2 separate regions of the Homo sapiens genome follow, and region 1 is linked to region 2. The links are contacts of gene promoters, found by promoter capture Hi-C in blood cells and fetal thymus (Javierre and others, 2016). All regions are on one chromosome and are shown on one strand. Each heading gives the region's core, a stretch centred on a gene start or on the middle of the fragment in contact. The rest is flanking DNA. Distances are from core to core; before and after follow the strand shown.

What was found. Contacts are between HindIII fragments. The CHiCAGO score rates a contact against its expected background, and 5 or more counts as called.
Region 1: a contact is called between the fragment with the promoter of ADAM22 here and the fragment with the promoter of ELAPOR2 in region 2, in 3 of 17 cell types (naive CD8 T cells, total CD8 T cells and total B cells). The highest score is 7.8, in naive CD8 T cells.

The regions. Positions count from the first base shown.
Region 1 is chr7:87,932,073-87,936,472 of GRCh38, reverse strand. ADAM22 (ADAM metallopeptidase domain 22) reads right to left here and starts at 2,222. Exons shown (of 32, transcript NM_001324418.2): 1 at 1,923-2,222; 2 at 1,287-1,447. The coding sequence starts at 2,007. RefSeq lists enhancers at 960-1,039, 1,050-1,099, 648-1,225, 1,226-1,803 and a silencer at 1,910-2,319. The HindIII fragment of the contact is 4,406 bases long and covers 168-4,400 here.
Region 2 is chr7:87,057,309-87,061,624 of GRCh38, reverse strand. It overlaps ELAPOR2 (endosome-lysosome associated apoptosis and autophagy regulator family member 2), which reads left to right and starts at 1,971. Exons shown (of 22, transcript NM_001142749.3): 1 at 1,971-2,300. The coding sequence starts at 2,112. RefSeq lists silencers at 1,694-2,083, 2,174-2,243 and an enhancer at 2,509-3,009. The HindIII fragment of the contact is 3,663 bases long and covers 126-3,788 here.

The DNA.
Region 1 (4,400 bases), core at 973-3,472, 870 kb before region 2:
AAATATCCTTCCACAGAAATAATCTTAATTAATTGAAAAATACGATGACATAGGGAAACTATGGCCCCTGCTTCTTCAGTTTTACCATTGAAACGAGTCAAAATGGAAAAGGAAAATAGGCATTTACCAACCATTAATTCACATAAAAGAATCCATCATTAAAAGCTTAACATATTGGGATTTTCTACTAAAATAATCTTTGATGGATATTATGTAGCCCTTTAAGCTAATTTCCCACCTTCTATTAACAAAATGTTAACAGTACCAACTACTTGGCTACAAATACAGATTTAAGTAATATTTTCTATTTTTACATATTTCACACATACAGATAAGTTAGTATAATTATCACATCATCAAGATATATCTTAAAGCACTGATGAATATATTTATACATGTGAAAAGGTTTGGCTTGCCATTGCTTCAGTAAAGTTTACAAAAATTTTCAAGTACATGAACAAGTCCTATCTTAATATGGACTTACAGGTGGGTGAACTGCCTGATCAGCTGATGTGTAGAAATAAAAAAATACACAGCCCCAGAAGTATTTACTTAAATTTGTCAATAAATTCACAGTAATTTTCAGGCATATCTGTGAATGTGTGATCTTGATTTAAATACAGATACAGTGATAAAAACTAGATTTTTAAAAACATAATTTATAAATGCTCAACAAACAGCACAGCCCTAATTAAACCAAGAGAACTGCTACCAATAAAGAAAGTCGGAGGAGGACACCTTTTCTAGAAGGTAGGGGTGAATGGGCATATCTCTGGTGTCCACAAATGTGTGCGAATAGAACCTTAAAGTTCAGCTTGTTTTTACAGTTGGGTTTCTTAAGAACGTCTAGCCTTGTTTTTTTCCAATTTTTTCTTACAGTGTCAACCTTGGGTTAAATCACTTATGAAGTCTCTTTGAGGAGTAAAACAACAACAATGATGATTCAAACCCTGCCCAAATACTACCTCCCTTCTCGCTGTGCATGCCTGGCTTTTGCTTGACAGATGTCAGAGGGCTCTCCGCCTGTTCTCTCAGCTCACCGCACTGCTGAAGGCACCCCGCACAAACTCCCCTCGGGCAAAGCCCTCGGCCTGTGGTTATTTTGGTTCTTTTTTGTACCCTTTTCCCCTTCTTTTTTGCACAGGGAGCGCCATGCATGACTCGCATCGGGACCCAACTCATTTCACCCAAGAAGACATGGGATCTCCAGGGCAACCGAGCGCAATCGTGGGGTCTCGGGTGGGCCGGGAGGCGCGGAGGACCACCTCCCGGACCGAGCCTCTCACCTGCGGGCCACCGAGGTCGCCCCGCACCCGCGTGTCGAGCGCGTCGTGCCGACTTTCGTCTTCGCCGCCCGAGCGGTAGATGAGGCGCAGTGGCACGATGCTCTGGCGCTCCACGAAGCGGTTTTCCTTCCTCTTCTCTAGCTCCATCAATGAGGCGTCTCCTCCAGGCAGGAACCGGGAAAGGAGGGAGTGGAGAGAAAAGGCGAAAATAATGACCCTGACCCTCACTCCTCCATCCTGCAGTCCTACGTCTCCCCTACGAAAATCCCCACCGCCCCCTCCCTCTCGGAACCCAACTGGGAAGGACGCAGAGACACCAGCCCGAGAGCCTTGGACCAGCTCATCCGAGAGCAACCAGGAGCGGGGCCCAGAAGCAGGGCACCCCTTTCCCATTCTCCCCATTCCTCTTCAGAAGGAGAAAAACAGGCTTTGACCGAAGGCTTCCAGTGCATCTGCGCGCCTCCACACATATATTTTTGCTCCACTTCTCACCACCCTCCCGAATTAAAAAAAAAAAAAAAAAAAATCTCCCCGCGCACTCGGGAAATGGGGATGCCCCCTTTTCAATACGCCTGAGGGCTCCAAAGATTCCCGGGAAATGGTATGGCCCAAAGGCACAGAGGACGGCTAACTTACCTGCCTGGCCGCAGCGCGCCGGAGGGCAGGTCCCCAGGACACAGAGCAGCAAGAAGGGCACGGACACAGCCACTGCCGCCTGCATGGTGCTGCCGTCAGCCCGCCTCGCCCGAGACGCTCAGCTCCTCATGCCGGCGCCGCCGAGTCCGTTTCCCTCGCTCCGCGCCCCCGGGGTCCCCGCGGCCACCTCCACCCAGCCCCGGCCGGTGCTGCGGCGGCCGTGGCGCTGCAACCTCCACCGCGGCTCAGTGCTGCATTGTGCTTCGCGGACGCTTCCGCTGGCGGGGGGAGCGAGCGAGTGCTGCATTGGGCGGTTGGCTGTAGCTAAGTGGTTTCTAGCGCCTCCCACCTCATCCCCTGGCAAAGGCTCGGGCGGGCGACAAGAGCTCGGCAGGGAGCGAGCGCCCGGTGCACTCGCCCCCCGCGCGCAGGCAAGGGCGCGCGCAGGAGAGTCAGCTGGGAAATGTAGTTCTCTCTCCGTGTCCCGCTTGTCTCCACGACGGCACGGACCGTCGCGACCTCGTGACTGTGAGGTCCTCTATATCCCACAGACTGGAAGGGCGGGAGGGAAGGGCAAAAGAAAGAGATCAGCACTGGACCGCCTCCTGGCATCCGAGATGCACCAACTGGGCCGTTACAGCAGCCAGTATTCATCTGCATCGTCCTTAAAGAGCTGTTCTGTTTACCACAGATTAGTAGTTACTTAAGTTATCCGGAGAACCATACCCTCACGAATACAGTGCTAGTGAATTATTCAACAAATACAGATTGAGGATATACTATGTACCCAGCGGTTGACAACCGGAAGGACACGGGGATCAGAGGCACCTGTTCTTGGGTAAAGTTGAGCAGACAGACCACTTTTTTTTACAATACAGTGTGAAAAGTGTCATGGTTATACCTAGAGGACCATTAATTCAGTCCAGGGAGTCAAAGAGGACCTCCCAGGGAAGGTCTCTGCAGGTAATAGAGGGATGATTTAGCTTAACTCTACGGGATATTTTTGTTCTTTATTGCCAGACAGCCTCAAAACTCTACCAGATATGGGGAACTCAGTTTTCTCAGGCTGCTTATTCCATTTTCCTCTGATTCAAAATGATAGAAATTCTTGAGTATAAAACAATAATAAAATAGTTATCTACATAAAGTAATACTTGTATTTTTTAGTTTTTCAAAGTTCACATGTATTATCTGATCCTTTGGTCAAGAATTTGATTATAACTATTACTCTGATTTTATATTTATGTATGTACGTATGTATGTATGTATGTATTTTTGAGATAGGGTCTTGCTCTGTCGCCCCAACTGGAGTGCAAGTGGTGAGAACACGGCTCACTGCAGCTCAAGCTCCTGGGCTCAAGCCATCCTCCTGCCTCAGCCTCCCAAATAGCTGGGACCACAGACATGTGACACCACACCTGGCTATTTTTTGTTATTATTATTACTTTTTGTAGAGACAAGAGTCTCCCCATGATGATCAGGATGCTCTTGAACTCTTGGGCTCCACCTTGGCCTCACAAAGTGCTGGGATTGCAGATGTGAGCCACTGCACATGCCTACTCCCATTTTAGAAAGGAAAAAAATTAAGATTTAGAGGTGTGCCTTTCAAATACTGTAGCCAGTAGTTACTTGAGGCTATTTTTTTTTTCCGAGTGTTTATTATTTATTTTTGTATTTCAATCGCTTTTGGGGAACAGGTTGTGTTTGTTTACATGAATAAGTTCTTTAGTGGTGATTTCTGAGATTTTGGTGTACCCATCACCCGAGCAGTGTACACTGTACCCAATGTGTAGTCTGTTATCCCTCACCATCCCCCACCCTTTCCCCTGAGTCCCCAAGTCCAATGTATCATTCTTATGCCTTTGTGTCCTCATAGCTTAGCTCCCACATATGAGTGAGAACATGCAAAGTTTGGTTTTTCATTCTTGAGTTACTTTACTTAGAATAATAGTCCCCATTTCCATCCAGGCTGCTGCGAATGCCATTATTTTGTTCCTTTTTATGCCTGAATAGTATTCCATGGTATATATATGCCACATTTTCTTTATCCACTCGTTGATTGATGGGCCTTTTGACTGGTGCCATATTTTTGCTATTGTAAATTGTGCTGCTATAAACATGTATGTGCAAGTTTCTTTTTTGTATAATGACTTATTTTCCTCTGGGTAGATACCTAGTAGTGGGATTGCTGGATCAAATAGTAGATCTCCTTTTAGTTCTTTAAGGAATCTCCATATTGTTTTCCATAGTGGTTATACTAGTTTACATTCCCACAAACAGTGTAAAAGTGTTCCCTTTTCATTGCATCCATGCCAACATCTATTTTTTTTTATTATGGCCATCCTTGCAGGAGTAAGGTGGTATCGCATTGTGGTTTTGATTTGCATTTCCCTGATAATTAGTGATGTTGAGCATTTTTCCATATGTTTGTTGGCCATTTGTATATCTTCTTTTGAGAATTGTCTATTCATGTCCTTA
Region 2 (4,316 bases), core at 722-3,221:
AAAGAAAATGTTGCTACATTTGAATACCTAAAGATGACAAGCTTCTGCCAGAAAAGCTATCAGAAGTAAATTTAAAAGACTACAAAAAAGTATTTGTAAGATATATGATAAACATACACAAAGCTTATGAAGATTGCTAACGAATCAATAAAAAATGGAACTTCAATAAAATGGCTAAAGTGTGCCAGTGAAAAATTCTCACACCCTGACATGAGAAGGAAAAATGCAAATAGCTAGTAGATATATATAAAAAATCACTCGATGTCACCAATGATAAAAATACATTTTAAAAATAATAGCTTTTGTCTCTTCTACCAAAATGATAAATATCTGAAGTATTATAATCTAGGGTGATGTGAAATAAATACTCATAAACTGCTGGTAACAATTGCTACAAATTTTTTGGAAGGAATTTGTACACTATTCGTCAAAAACTTTAAAAATACACATATCATGTGATCCAATGTTTTCACTTCTAGAAAGTTATCATAAAATATTTAAAGATGCACACAGATTATGTTCCAAGGGCATTCTTTCCAGAATTATTAATAACACTGAATCCTTAAACAATGCCTAATATCTAATAGTAAATTACATGTATCTAAAGAGTAGAAAATATTTTACAATTATTAAAGTTGTGTTGTTGGAGACTTTAATGACTTGAGAAAATATTTATGTTATTAAGAATAAAAATAAAAGCAGGTTACAAATTATTATTCCAGTTTTGCAGTACACACAGAGTTAAAAAAAAAAAAGCAAGGAAATTCCTCAACATGTTAATACCATTAACAATGTTATCTCTGGGTGGTAGGATCTCTAGTTATTTTTATATTCTTCCTGATACTTTTCAATATTTTCCAAAATGTTTACAAATAACATATATTGTTATAATCAGAATATAGGTGTGATACACAAATCTATATGTGTATACATACACACAAACACACATATACAGAGACTTTCATGTGGAAATTTTGTTAAAAGGATATTAGAGATAATGCCACAAACAAATGTGCCACAGGCCAACTTATAATGAGTGGGCCACGTGGATTTGTCCAGATATTCAATAATCAGAAATTTGGATGCTTCTTTTGAAAAACACAATAACTCACCCATTTACAGAATCTGAGATCAAGAAGGGATCTTGAGATCCTTGCCACTGAGGAAGGCCTTATGTCCATCTTGTTCACCATCACCTAGTTCAGTATGTTTTTGAATGAAAGAAAAAACGAAGAGCACCTCAATCATCGCACAGATGGAGAAACTGTTTCCTCCAGAAAACACAGGGCTTAATGCCCAATGTTACACATCTCCACAAAATAACACCAATAGCAGCAATAATTATGGCTACTACTACCAACACATGTCACCTACTGTGTGCCAGGCACTCTTCCAAGTGCTTTATGTACATCAACTTACTTAATCCTCATAATAATCCTACGTGGTGGGTATTATTTTCATTAAATAGGTGAGAAAACTGAGTCACACACCACGTCTACACCTCAGTCCTCTTTCTTCCCCGCCATTTCATGCACACCCTAACTAGAAATTCGATCTGACGCTAGCCAGCATGGATCCTTACAAGGGATGTTCCGAGGGCACATCTGCGTGTTTGTGTGCAATGAGGAAAGTGGCGAGCTTTTTAAAGACCCACCGCCAGAAAACAATGTCCTGATGTCCTGTATTTACTCTGGCTTCATCCCGGGAGCGCCCCTCCCAGTGGGCCACGGGGACCTGAGACAGGCTACTCCACGGGGTCCCCAGCCTCTCTCGCCCTCTAGCGCGAGGCGAGCGCCGCGCAGCCCCTGGGGACCCGCCGGGCTGGGCCGCAGCCCCCGCCCGCGCCACCTGCTCCCCAGCTCCAGCGTCCCCGCCCCGCGTCCCGCCCCCGCGCCGCGCCCGCGCCCCGCGGTCCCTCCCTCCGGCGTGACGGGAGCATCGGCGCTGGCTGCCCGGGCCGCGAGCGCAGCAGAGCTGTCAGCGGGCGGACGGGCAGCGGGTGACGGAGCGGCGAGACGAGCGCACAGCAGTCGCGGCCCGGGAGCCGGAGCTGCCGCCGCACCCCGGGAAGGCTGCCTTGCCGCCGGCCCGCCGACCGCGGCCGGACGAAGATGCTGTTCCGCGCCCGGGGGCCGGTACGGGGCAGGGGCTGGGGGCGGCCGGCGGAGGCTCCCCGCCGCGGGCGCTCGCCGCCCTGGAGCCCCGCCTGGATTTGCTGCTGGGCGCTCGCCGGCTGCCAGGCGGCCTGGGCTGGGGACCTGCCCTCCTCCTCCAGCCGCCCGCTTCCTCCTTGCCAGGAGGTGAGCAGCACCTGGTCCTCTACCTGGAGTTTGCTGGGGGAGGGCGCGGAAGATGAAGGCTGAGAGCGGTTCCTGTTTATTTCTGTTTGCCATCCCCTTTTCCTTTGCTTGGAGAACAGGGGCTTTCGTTTGCTTCGAGGGGTGAAGTTGCCCGCCCTGGTAGCTGGCCCGGAGAGGGTGTGTGGCTTCGCTGTCTCTCGGGGGATGCTTTTCTGTCCGCGCTTGTGTCTTTTGGGGGCTCTGCAGGACTTTGCGGCGTCCTTTTTGGACAGCCAGGTTTGAGGACCTGGGGTCGAGGGAAAGATTTCAGGAAGGGGAGGAGACTGGGGAAGCCCCACCAGTGGGATTTGAAGAACCATCTCATCACAGCTTTTCCAGAGAGCCAGACACAGACACCAGAGGATTTCCCGCTCCTCCTCCCCCTGTCTCCACTCCCCTGTCTCTGCAAACGCCTTCGTCCTACTCCCCTGCCCTCAGCTTCCTGATTAAGGCCCTGTGGGTTTGCTAAGCCAATGTATGGTGTCACTTAGCATCCTTCTGACAAAATGTGGATTTGAATTTGGGGGGGAAAAAAAAGGAGTATGTACTTGGTAGAGAAGATGCAGGTTGATGATGGAGAAAATTAGAAAAGACAGTGAATATGCTTCTTTTGGGAGGTGCTTTATCACCTGGCTGAAGTATTGCCGCGGTGTATTTTATAGCTTGTAATCATTGTTGTTTTACAGCCAAAAAGGATAAACTATGGGAGATGAGATTTTTATCTGGCTTTTAGAAGAACGAGACAGTGTGCCAAAAATTTACAGGGGGTGTCATTGGTTCTTGTATTGGGTGTTTATCTTTCCATTTAGTGTTCAGAAAGTGCATCCTCTTAATGAAAATCAATGAGGGGAAGGAAGCAACATTTCTGACCTACTTTGATTGTGTTGGGAGGATATATGGAATAGATACTGTTTTTAGGAAGATTGTTAGGAATCAGGGCGATGGGTCGTTTTAATTAATGTAGCAAAAATAGGTTAGCCAATAGCCCCTCTGGGAAGAAAGGCCAGACCCTCTTGTTTGTGTATGTTGCTCTAACTTCTGAATTTTACCGAGACTTGAATTACAGAGTATCTGTGTTCTACACATCATCCATCATCTATGGATTTTCGTCTTTCTCTCCTACAGTACAGGTCCCAGGACAGACTGAAATGAAAGAGAATCGGATCAAAGGCTTGTGTGCGAACACACAGCAATGTTGTAATTGGGGAAATCAGGGCAAGAGCTCAACAAACAGCTGTGTTTAATTTTAGGGCTTTTTAGTATAATGAGCTTAATCTATATTCTACAACTTTACATATCACCTGGGAATAATCCATTATTCCAGGTTTCCACAGAAAGCTGCTTCTTGGACATCTCAGATTGAACAGTTGTGACAAGATAAACTTTATCCTCCAGCCCCCAACTTCTAATATGCAGAATATATTTTTCTAAACTGAAAAGTCTTAAGCTTCTGATAACATCGATTCTTAGTAATGAAAATCTGCTTGAAGTAGGCGAAGGTCAGGGTCAATAGAAGTGATGCCTTTGGTCTCTACAACTAGACTAATCTTTTAGATGAACACATGTCCTACACATGTATACCTAGAAAGAAGAGTCTGCAACCTAAAACAAAGATTGAAAGGAGGGGCAGAGAGATGACAGAAGGTTCAGGAAGGCTGGGTTCACTTGATCACAGGTCCTTACTGCATTGGCTTTAGAAATTGCATGTGACTCATCCGTTGAGATCTGAAATTTACATTTTCCTTCTGAAAAATGAGAATAAATAAAATATATAGGAGGACGCTATTGAGCCTGCCTTTGGCTGTATGTTTTTATAAATGTTAATGCACAGATCCATTTATGTTCTTCCTGATGACTGACAAGTAAGAGGAACTAATGGGAGTTAGAAGTTCTTGGAAGTAGAAGAGGCCTAGTGACCTCCCAGGGGTTGAATCTGTTTGATATCTGGTCTAACCAGTGGAGCTAATTTACAGAATT